Linked DNA regions of Homo sapiens: all the other regions are linked to region 1. Evidence: promoter capture Hi-C in 16 types of primary human blood cells and fetal thymus (Javierre and others, 2016). All regions are on one chromosome and are shown on one strand. The core of a region is centred on a gene start or on the middle of the fragment in contact, and the rest is flanking DNA. Distances in the headings are between cores, read along the strand shown.

Region 1 (2,700 bases), core at 1-2,500:
AGCTTCCCAGACAAGGCCGGAGAGCCGCGGAGAGAACTATGACCCCCCTCCTCCCTCCTCCTACAGAGCAGCCTCGCTCCCTAAGGCCAAACCCGCGCCCCCCATGACCTCCAATGGCTCGAGAAAAGAGCTTTGAATTGCCCGCTTTTTCCAAAGCTGGTTCATACTCCCTCGCAAAGCAGGGAATAGGGTCTGGGGACAAAAGGAGGCACATGCCTGCCACATGAGGAAAACCCCATCACCTGGAACTCGGCGAACTCCTCACAGTTCACACCGCCACTGGGCGCCGCCATATTGGACAAACACGAGGACCCCGCTGCAGGCCAATCACCGCGGAGCAAAGGTGACCGCGGAGTCGCCTGACAAAAAATATAGTACGAGGGGAATCCTTAGGAAAGCTGAGTGCAAGGCTTGAGTTCAACGTGGTCCGCATCCACCTCGGAACCTGTCACCCTGCTGTCCCAACCCTTTTAACATGTCCTCCTGGAACTGGGCCAGATACATGGATCAAAGATTGTCAGACCTTGAAGGGACTGTTTACTCCAATCCCATCTTTTCACAAAAGGGAAACAATTTCCTTGTGGTTCCCCTACCAGGTCGTTGAAGGAAATCTAGGCAAGTGAGGCCTTTCTAATACCTCTCACTCCAGTGCCTAACCTCCTCCCCGGACCCTGGAGCAGGGGGGTCTTTGTTAAGAATTTGGGACCACTAAGAAACGTCAAGAAAAAACGGCATTTCTGGCAGTGTGGGTGGGTATGAGTAAAGTGTTTAGGATGGAGATGATCAAATGTTTTTAGAAAATAGGTAAATAGAAAACAAATTGAAAACATACATGTTAATTTCTCAGATTAGCCTGAGGGATGCTCCAACAAGAGATAGGGCCACTGAGCAGAGTCCAATTATGTGTTTTCTGATAAAAGCATATGTTCATTGAAAACACTGGAAGAGCGGCATACTGGAATACTGGTTTATCTGGTGTATTTCGGGAGTTTACAGATCACGAAAGTTGCACATTTCCTTTCTATTTCACACAGGTACTCCCATGGGTACATATCCGCTAGGGCAAGGGCCCACGGCGCCACACTCCACAGGACCATCTCCGAGGCTGGCTCAGGATGCGGCGCCAGGGGCACTAGGCTGGCGCCGCGGGTCTCCAGCGCGTGGCGCACGTCCTACACGCCCCGCACTGGCGCAGGCCTGTACACCGCGTCGCGCACGCCCCGCCCCCCGGCGCCGCCTGCGTCCTTCCCACTCCAACGCTGGGTGACATTGAGCTCACCAGCGCCACCGTCCCCGGCGAAGTTCTGCGCTGGTCGGCGGAGTAGCAAGTGGCCATGGGGAGCCTCAGCGGTCTGCGCCTGGCAGCAGGTGAGACGCCGGTCGGGATATGGGAGGTAGGGGAGCTGGCCCGGCCGCTGCGGGTGGGGGAATCCTGAAGCCTTCCTGGGCCCCGGAGTGGCTCCATTCCATGACGCACTTTCTCGGTTCCTCAGAATCCTACCTACTTAGTAGCCATGTGGGAGGGAACTAGGTGAGCAGCTGCTGATAGGCATTGGAGACTGCCCGTGAATTACCCTCATCTCCATCCACCCAGCTCCCACCAACTTAACTGCCCACGCGCCTACCCTTCTCCCCACCCCCGTCCTCAGCCTCCCCTGAGCTCAGTCTGTAAAGCACCTACTATCCCTAGACCTCCCCTTTACCCATGCATTCAGCTTTCCACCCTAACCTCCCCTATCTATTGCTCTCCTTGAGTCTTCCCTCTTCCCCCTGCTCCTTCCTCTCTGGAGTTTATCCCAGAAAACCTCCAGTCTGAAGTTTCCCCACTCATTAAATGTCTGATTAGGCCAAGGATTTAGGTCTTAGAGATTAATAATAATTGTTTTCTTAAAATGGAGGATACATTACTTTTAAACACTTATACAATTAATTGATTCGAATTTCTTGGAGGAAGTGTGTAATTGAAGGATCTGCAGTTTGTTTTGGTGGTAGACATTTGTGTGATGACTATTTTGGACTTAGGTAATGAAAGCTTAATTCTTTTTTTTTGGGAGAACCAGCAGAGCCTTGGCATAGTAGGGGTTGAGAAATCAGAGGGCTTGCATTTTGACTCTTTTCTGGGTACCAGAGATCTTTTGTTCAATGGCACACACTACATTATTAAAAAGTTGTTAATTAAATTTTTAAAGGAAAAATAGCCCCAAACTTGGCTATTCAAATAATATAAATATATATTGTAATGTAAATGAAGTAATGCAAAAAAAAAGAGTGAATGTTGCATAGTTTCACAAGTTTGATACATAACCTTCCCCACCTCAAGATTATCCTTTACACAGCTTATCTAGTGTTCCGGTAGAGAATGGACTGGAAAACATGTCTCAAACTAGAGAGTATTATTATATTTACTTCCTTTAAAAGCAAACACTTCTTCCACTAAAATCCTCAATACTATGATTTCATTGATTTTGTCAGTTTTGTTGAACTAATTCACCTAAAATATCTTCTGTACATCCTATTAACATTATGAAGCTTTTCAACAAGGCAAGTGAAAGGATCATTGCTCTGTAAAAAAGTTAAAATGGACTGCATGAAAAGAACTTTGACATCTTGGAACTACTTTGACATCTTTGAACTAATACTGAGTATATTGTAAGTAGTTCATCTTCTTGCTTTGAGAATATATTTATGCATCTTGCATAA
Region 2 (2,700 bases), core at 70-2,569, 1.8 Mb before region 1:
TTTGAAATATTACCATTTCTGCCTATTCTTTCTGTACTGCCTGATTGTCAGCTCCCGAAAGGCAAACACCCCATCTTCCATTTTGTCTGGATTTCCCCCACTGAGCCTAGAAGATTGACTTAACACTGACTAGTGTGCTGTGTGCTTCACGCGGTGGGTGCTTAATAAATATTTTAAAACAGTATTAAAATGTTGAATAAATTTGACAGCAGTGCTGCTTCTCATCATTTCAAATGCCAACACTTTCTAGGTCCCTTTTCTAGCAACCATTTCCCAACATACCTACGCGCCCCCAGACGTTTCAGCCAAGCTGGGGCTCTCTTTTGATCCATCCTTCTTTGCCCGAGTTATGGAAATATTGTTTACATTTTTTCCCCTGAGGAGAAGGGGAACCCAAAGACCCTGCTGTGAAACTTGAAGTTGTTTTTCTCCTTGGTAACTGGGGAGAAGGAAGGACAGTAGGGACAGAGAAGGTTTTGTTTCTGATTACTTCAGTTTTCGCCCCAGATCGTCTTTTACAATAAGATACATGCCCCTATGAGTATTTTCATACCTGTAAGGATGTTTTTAATTCTTTGCATCTGAAGAGTGCTAAGGATTTTAGGCAAGAGGTTTTAGTATTTTAACTAAGATGTTTTCTCATGAGCTTTATTCAGTATCTCATTTTCTTCCTGACCTTCTATAGTCAGTCAGGCAACATTTCTCTTATAACATCATTTTTCCTATTAATCATTATTTCGTACCTGTGAAAAATAAGCTTACACTTAATGTTGTATGAATCTAGCATGGTAAAGTACAGAAAAGCTTATTCTCTTCTTCTTGGGTAGGGAATTCTGTTTTGCAAAGCACTTTGTGATCTATTTGTTAGCTTATTTAATCCTCACAACAACTTTGCTAGGTGGACAGGAGTCATTATCTCCAGGATAAGGAAAAGGAAACTCAGAGACTTTAAGTGACTTATCCAAGGTGACACAGCACGGTTAGACCCACAATGAAAACCCGGACTTCTGACTCCACAGCCAGTCCCACACAGCTCAACTTTACATAATAAGCCCTGGTTATGTCAGTAGAGACAAGGCTGCTAGGAAGAAGCAGCGCGGTGACAGATGAGTAGGTGGGGAGCGGCGGTGGGGCAGGGCGCACTGCGAGAAGAGCACTTCGCGCATGCGCATATCACCGAGCGAACGCGCCGTGTTCGGGAAGGTAGGAGAAAGAGGCGGAGCTCCTTGTTAACGACATCCCCAACCTCTGCTAACGCGCAGGCGCACTTCCTGAAGCTGAAGGTCAGCATAGACAAAGGGCCTCAGAATCGCGCAGGCGCAATTGTGCCCTGGTTCGCCAAGATGTCGTTCCCAAAGTATAAGCCGTCGAGCCTGCGCACTCTGCCTGAGACCCTCGACCCAGCCGAATACAACATATCTCCGGAAACCCGGCGGGCGCAAGCCGAGCGGTTGGCCATAAGAGCCCAGCTGAAACGAGAGTACCTGCTTCAGTACAACGATCCCAACCGCCGAGGGCTCATCGTGAGTGTGGGGCCTCCCAGGCGGGAATAGGGCCCGAGTCCTGGGAGAGACCGAGAGAGACCACGCAAAGGGTCGGCCACCGCTCCCGATCAGTATCTCAGACGCAGGTCCTCTTCCAGGCCTAGCCAACTCACTACCCTTTTACCTTTGCCAGAGCTTGGCCCTCGAGAGGACCGGCTCTGGACTCAGACCTGGCTGGGTTTGAATCCTGGCTTGATCACTTCCTGCCTGCGTGACCTTAAGAACGTTATTCACTCTGCTTATCCTCGATTTTCTGTCTGCAAAATGGGCGTAATATAGTGCTTACTCTTTTATCAGGCTGTTAGGATTAAATGAGATAGAGTATGTGACTGTCCTAGCACAGTGCCTCGTTCGTAAGGCGTGTTCAGAAAATGTTTCTATATATATGCATATATATATTATATTATATATATATTCTATATATATGCATATATATTATATTCTATATATATGCATATATATTTTATATATATGCATATATATTATATTCTATATATATGCATATATATTTTATATATATATATAATTTTAAAGAGCTGGTGTTTACCTTTCAGTTCACAGCTCATAGGGATACTGCTCTCTCCTGATGGGAATACAGTGATTCCTTCAACCTGCATCTTTTAAAGACCCTGAAGCTTGCTGAAGTTCTAGGCTTTGGAGTCAGAACCCAAAGCACTACTCATTGGCTAACTCTGTTACCTTGGGCAACTTCAACTCCTCTGAATTATAGTTTCCTGGTTTCGTATATAAATGATGTGCATTATGAGGTTAAATAAGACAGTCTGTGTAACATTCGCAGCACATAATATATGCCCAGTAAACTGGTAATTAACAGGTGTGCTTTCATTAGGTAGTTTTCTATACAGGAACTAAGTAGGTTAAATATGATGTTAACAGAACAGGACTGGACTTTTCCCACACGTTGCATTGGTGTTTTGGAATTTTTGGAAGTTATGAGGATTGAATGAAAGTTACAATGTGCCAGGCACTGTGCTAAAACTCTTTTTGAGTACTATTTACATATCACAACTATTTGGATGATTAAGCTCTACTACTGTCCCCATTTTACAGATGAGAAGACAACATGGGAAGGACAAGTAGGTCATACAGAGATACCTCTTTAGTAGGTGATAGAGCAAAATTCTAACCCTGGTTT
Region 3 (2,899 bases), core at 30-2,529, 1.2 Mb after region 1:
CAAACATAATTTTAAACTGCCATAACTGCATTAGTCCACTAATTTTTAATCTAACTATACTTGACAAATATGCAAAGATAACATCTGCCTCATCAATGAATATCATGGACTCCAAAAATGAATAAAGTAGAAAACACCCACAACTCATTACAGAGGAACTCGTTTTTTAAAAACTGACATATAATTCACATGCCACAAAATTCACAATTTTAAACTGTACAATCTAGTGGTTTTTAATATGTTCACAGAGTTGTGCACCCACCACCACTATTTCAAGAACAATATCATCACCTTAAAAGGAAATCCTGTACCATTAGCAGTCACACCCCACTCTCTCTCCCCACAGCCCCTAACAATTCCTCTACTTTCTGTCACTATGGATTTGCCTATTCTGGATATTTCTTATAAATGAAATCATACTATTTGTGACTTTTTGTATCTGCCTCCTTTCACATGCATTTTTTCAAGATTTATCCAGGCATATATCAGTAATTCATTTGCCTTTATTAATTTTATGAATGTTTATATCCATAGACCACATTTTATCCATGAGTAGCATTTTATTTATAGATACTTTTTTTTTTGGAAATGGGGTCTTGCTCTGTCACCCAGGCTGGAGTGCAGTGGCACGATCATGGCTCACTGTAGCCTTGAACTCCTGGGCACAAGTGATCCTCCCACCTCAGTCTCCTGATTAGCTGGGACTACAGGCATGTGCTACCATGCCTGGCCAATTTTTTAATTTTTTGTAGAGATGGGGTCTCGCTATGTTTCCCAGGATGGTCTTGAATTTCTGGCCTCAAGCAATCCCCCCATGTCAGCCTCCTAAAGTGCTGGGATTACAGGTGTGAGCCATGGTACTCAGCCAGGCTTCCTTTTGTACCTTGCTACTACATGCTCCTTTGTACTTGCTTGGTAAATGTTTTTATGTCTTTTAAAAAGCAAAGTGTTATTATTTTCTTAAGAAGATGTGAAATTGGAGAACAAGTAATTTCGATTTCCTTTTTAAGTAAACTCCCACAGAACCTAATAAAGAATAACATTTAGCATAAAGAGATATAAATGAGTAGCTGCCTTCCCTGGATTCATTTTCTCCTCCTGTAAACAGGATATATGTCAACACTAATAATTCCCATCAGGATAACTTATGTGTAATTAAACAATACCACACACATCTAATTATTACACAGTGTAGATGGGGTAGGCAATGAAAAACTCCTCAACCACAGAAATTGTGGTTTTAGCAAGCCTGCTCTATCGCCCAGTCCAAGGGATTACTTCCATCACTGACCTTTGCAACGTTAATTGCCTGCATGTTCCTGGGAGTCTTCACTTCCTTATGCACAGACATTTTCCCAAAATCAAATCCAGGATTTGTCACTTAATTGGTTCTTAGTGGGGATAACAGAGATAAAACCAAAAATCCAAGATATTTTCCTAAATCCCTATTAAAAATTCTATAAGGATAAACAGGCTAATCCTTCAAAGTCTAAGACTTGGTTCCTGAGTGGATTTTAAAGTATGACACTGTTTAATGTCCCTACCTTCCATAAGATATACTTAAATTTTAAAAATTATACTTCTAACATTACCAAGTTTTTTTTTTTTTGAGACAAGGTCTCACTCTGTCATCCAGGCTGGATTGCAGTGATGCAATCATAGTTCGCTGCAGCCTCAAACTCCTGGGTTCAAGCTCAAGCCTCCCATTTCAGCCTCCCAAGTAGCTGGGACTACAGGTACCCACCACCCAGCCCAGCTAAAAAAAAAAAAATTTTTTTTTTGTAGAGATGAGGTCTTGCTATGTTGCTCAAGCTGGTCTCGAACTCTTGCCCTCAAGTGATCCTCCTGCCTTGGCCTCCCAAAGCTCTGGGATTGCTGGGACTATAAGCATGAGCCACTGTGCTCAGCTCTAATATTATGATGTCTTAAAGAGATAGAAACCCCTTTAAATTATTGAAGTATTCCAAATGGGGACAACCCCCTACTATATCAAGTACTGGAAGTCTGATGGTCTTGACTCCAAATTTGCTTCTCTGTAGCTTGTGGGAACTGTACTGGCCAAGGTTCTGAAAGAGAAAGTACTACTTATTTACTAGTGTCCGCTTCCAAAAAAAGTTCAAGCCTCTAAGTTTAAAAAATGGTTCACATTAGGATTTGTTAAAATTTCCTCACACTCAAATTTAGGGTAGTAAGGGACTTTAGAAATCTACTTTAACCTAATTATTTACAAATGAAAAGGAGGTGGATACGAGAGAAAAGACTTGCCCAAATCTATAGAGTCAGTTGGGAAAACTATTATACTTAAAATAAAAAGGTACTCAGGCTTCCAGCTGGAAGCTCATTTCATCATACCACCTACTTAAAATGCCTAAGTTTGGACACTATTGAAATTCCTCTGTGTTGCAGTGAGCCGAGATCCCACCACTGCACTCCTGCCTGGGCAACAGAGTAAGGCCCTGTGTCAAAAAAAAAAAAGAAAAAAGAAAGAAAGAAAAAAAGAAATTCCTCTGCCTTCTAAGAGAAAAAAACAAAAGCAAAATGGATAACTTTCTGATCTAGAACGTGAGAGTGAATCCAGCCTGGGAAACACAGCCAAACCTCACCTCTACCAAAAATATAAAAATGAGCCAGGCACGGTAGTGCACGCCTGTGGTCCCAGCTACTTGGGAGGATGAGGTGGGAGGATGGCTGGGGCCTGGGAAGTCAAGGCTGCAGTGAGCAGTGATCACACCACTGCACTTCAGCCTGGGTGACAGAGTGACCCTCTCTCAAAAAAATAAATAAATAAAGTGAGAGTGGGCTGGGTGCAGTGGTTCACGCCTGTAATCTCAGTGCTTTGGGAGGCTGAGATGGGAAGATTGCTTGAGCCAAGGAGTTTGAGACCAGCCTGGGCAACACA
Region 4 (2,700 bases), core at 170-2,669, 1.2 Mb after region 1:
CCATATTTTCTACCATATTATTCTCATTCCCCTGACTACATACATAGATGCCAAGACTATAAAGCAAAATCATGAAATGTTTATCACAAAAGTCAGGATAGTGGATACTTCTGAACTGGAGGTGGGCACCCCTCTTTCTTATCTTTTTGTCTTCATAGAAAAGGTACAAAAAGACATATGTACTAACCAAATTTCGAGGTTCCTAAATAATGGAGACTAACTCTCGGTTAGTTAGAGAGAAAATGAATTTATTGAAAGGACATTACATAGCTCACAAAATTGATGGAAAAGCTGAAGAATGAGGCTTGGAACTTGGAAAGGAGCCATGGGAAATTAGGCAGCCCGAAATAGAGACCAAATCAATACACAGGAAGCATCTGGTTAGTATCCAACTGCGTCTGTCATTGGCACAACCACCATCAGACGTTGGACAGTACCCTTATTGCTTCCTCTTCCACCTCTGGAAAGATTCTAAGTGCCATTTGCTTCTTTCTGTTACTCCAGAATCAAGGTCTTAGGTAGGAGTGTCTGATTGGAAGGTCCTGTGCCCAAATTCTAGAGACAAGGGATCTGGAAAAGGGGCTATTTGTCCATACTTAAGCTTCTTTATTGGATTTTTTTCCAAATAGGAAGTGTTAGATACTAGGAGGCCAAAAATGAAAAACTCCTATCACAAGGAATATTAGAAATAAACATATCTGGCTTCTGCCTATTCACAGCGAGGAGAAAAGATTAATAGGATCAGTTAAGATCTGTGAAATTCACAGGGCCATGCTTTTACTTGGAGACAAGGGATTCTGCACAGTCACTGAACTGAAAGGCAGCCAGGCTTTCTCTTCCTTCTGCTTTGCAGTGCACCACTCTTTCTCTTTTCTAGTTTTTCTGCCTGTGATTGGCAGTGGGAACTGGGGTGGAATTCTGATCAGTCCTGCCAGGCCAGGAAGCTATCTTCAATTCAGGAAGGTGAGATGTGACCCTGCTGCTGTCTCCAAACTGGCCAGCATCAGAGAACTCTTCAAGGGTATGTTTTTGGGTGCCTGACCAACCACGAAGACAACTGACATTTGGGCCGGGCATGGTGTAATCCTAGCACTTTGGGAGGCCAAGGCAGGAGGATCACATGAGCTCAGAAGTTTGAGGCCAGCCTGGGCAACATAGTAAGACTTTGCCTCTACAAAACATAGAAATATTAGCTGGATGTAGTGGTGCATGTCTATAGTCCCAGCTACTTGAGAGGCTGAGGCAGGAGGATGGCTTGAGCTGGGGAGATTGAAGTTGCAGTGGATGGTGATAGCACCACAGCACTCCAACCTGGGCAGGCAACAGAGCAAGATCCCATCTCAAAAAAAAAAAAAGACAGCTGACATTTGGATTCTTGTTTGGCTGGTGATCTAGTTTTTCTGTCATGCAAAACCCTGGAGGAAAAGAGGGATGGGTGATAGGAATCAGACTCTAAATTCCACCCTAAACTTCCAGTTAGCGGTGCCTTAGACTGGCTGGTGATACAACCTAATATGAAATGGCTATATCAGATTCATCTCTTTGAGAATCTGAACTTGGAAGAACTGAGCCCTCAGCAGATGTGGGGAGAGAAGAGACACATGTGAGAGGCTGTGTGATAGTTGCCTTAGTATTTGATGATGCTGTGATCAGCTGCAGGCCATAGTCTCCCTACAAATAGTTAATGAACACACTAATGAAGTTCAATCACGTTTATGAATAAACACTGATTAAAACAATGAGATAGATGTCTTCTTCTTTTTCTTTTCTTACTCAAAATGTCAGTAACCCTGTTGGCAGGCGTATAAGAACAGTTGTGCTCTTACACTTTGCTATTGAAAGTATAAATTGATAGACTTTCTGGAAGACAGCTTGGAAATACATAAATATATACTGAAACTTTAAAATTATGCGTGTCCTTTGACCCAACAATTACACTTCTTGGAACTTTTTTATTTTTATCTGTTTTAGAGATAGGATATTGCTCTATTGCCCAAGTTGGCTTCAAACTCCTGGGCTCAAGTGATTCTCTCACCTCAGCCTTCCGATAACTGGGACTACAGGCACACGCCACTGCACCCAGCCATTGGAATTTATCCTAAAGAAAGAATTTAGGATGTGAAAAAAGATTTAGTTATAAAAGTTCATTCATCACAATGCTATTTACAATAAGAATATTTCCAAACTGTTGGAAACAATCTAAATGTCCAGCAGTATAGACTGACTAAATTATGATGGAAGCTTAAAATAGTATATTCAGCCATTAAAAATGGTTTTGCAGAAACTTACTTTTAAATGAGGCTTCTGAGTCAAAAACAAAAACAATTAATCATTTGTAGCAAAAGCAGCAGCCCAAGCAACATCCTATGTTGGTTTCCAAGGGTCATCATGAGGGCGAGATGGTACCTGCACATGCAGCGGGGTGCATTACAGGACAGGAGCCCTGTAAAAATTAGGAAACTCTGATCTTCTATATAACTGCCAGAGACCTGCCCATCATCCTCTCCAGAGAGAGAGAAACCTTAGTTTACTCTGGAATGTAAGCAAGTCTTGTCCAGGAAGGGAGGAAGAAGAGTTCTTTATCTTTACTATCCTGGACCATCTCCAGGGAGGTAAACATGTCTACGCTTTACTATCCTGAGATGTCTCCTTATATAAGTATTCTTGAATTGTTTGCAATTGCCTTCGATCAGAGGACCT

What was found. The method cuts DNA at HindIII sites, captures the fragments that hold promoters and counts their contacts. A CHiCAGO score of 5 or more calls a contact.
Region 2: the fragment with the promoter of NDUFB4 here is called in contact with the fragment with the promoter of FAM162A in region 1 in 2 of 17 cell types (total CD8 T cells and fetal thymus); the score reaches 7.3 in total CD8 T cells.
Region 3: a contact is called between a fragment that was not itself captured here and the fragment with the promoter of FAM162A in region 1, in 7 of 17 cell types (non-activated CD4 T cells, naive CD4 T cells, activated CD4 T cells and 4 more). The highest score is 10.0, in non-activated CD4 T cells.
Region 4: a fragment that was not itself captured here is called in contact with the fragment with the promoter of FAM162A in region 1 in 2 of 17 cell types (naive CD8 T cells and non-activated CD4 T cells); the score reaches 6.4 in naive CD8 T cells.

Annotation. Positions count from the first base shown.
Region 1 is chr3:122,382,932-122,385,631 of GRCh38, forward strand. FAM162A (family with sequence similarity 162 member A) reads left to right here and starts at 1,251. Exons shown (of 5, transcript NM_014367.4): 1 at 1,251-1,368. The coding sequence starts at 1,335. It overlaps MIX23 (mitochondrial matrix import factor 23), which reads right to left and starts at 300. Exons shown (of 5, transcript NM_001017928.4): 1 at 243-300. The coding sequence starts at 293. RefSeq lists enhancers at 1,062-1,562, 1,386-1,435 and a silencer at 1,146-1,295. The HindIII fragment of the contact is 2,247 bases long and covers 1-2,030 here.
Region 2 is chr3:120,595,017-120,597,716 of GRCh38, forward strand. It overlaps NDUFB4 (NADH:ubiquinone oxidoreductase subunit B4), which reads left to right and starts at 1,320. Exons shown (of 3, transcript NM_004547.6): 1 at 1,320-1,523. The coding sequence starts at 1,344. RefSeq lists an enhancer at 1,391-1,730. The HindIII fragment of the contact is 1,375 bases long and covers 803-2,177 here.
Region 3 is chr3:123,577,704-123,580,602 of GRCh38, forward strand. All of the region lies in intron 2 of HACD2 (3-hydroxyacyl-CoA dehydratase 2), which reads right to left. Among named protein-coding and RNA genes, the nearest start is that of HACD2, 5.9 kb to the right of the region's middle. The HindIII fragment of the contact is 5,964 bases long and covers 1-2,899 here.
Region 4 is chr3:123,595,176-123,597,875 of GRCh38, forward strand. All of the region lies in intron 2 of MYLK-AS1 (MYLK antisense RNA 1), which reads left to right. Among named protein-coding and RNA genes, the nearest start is that of MYLK-AS1, 11 kb to the left of the region's middle. The HindIII fragment of the contact is 1,640 bases long and covers 600-2,239 here.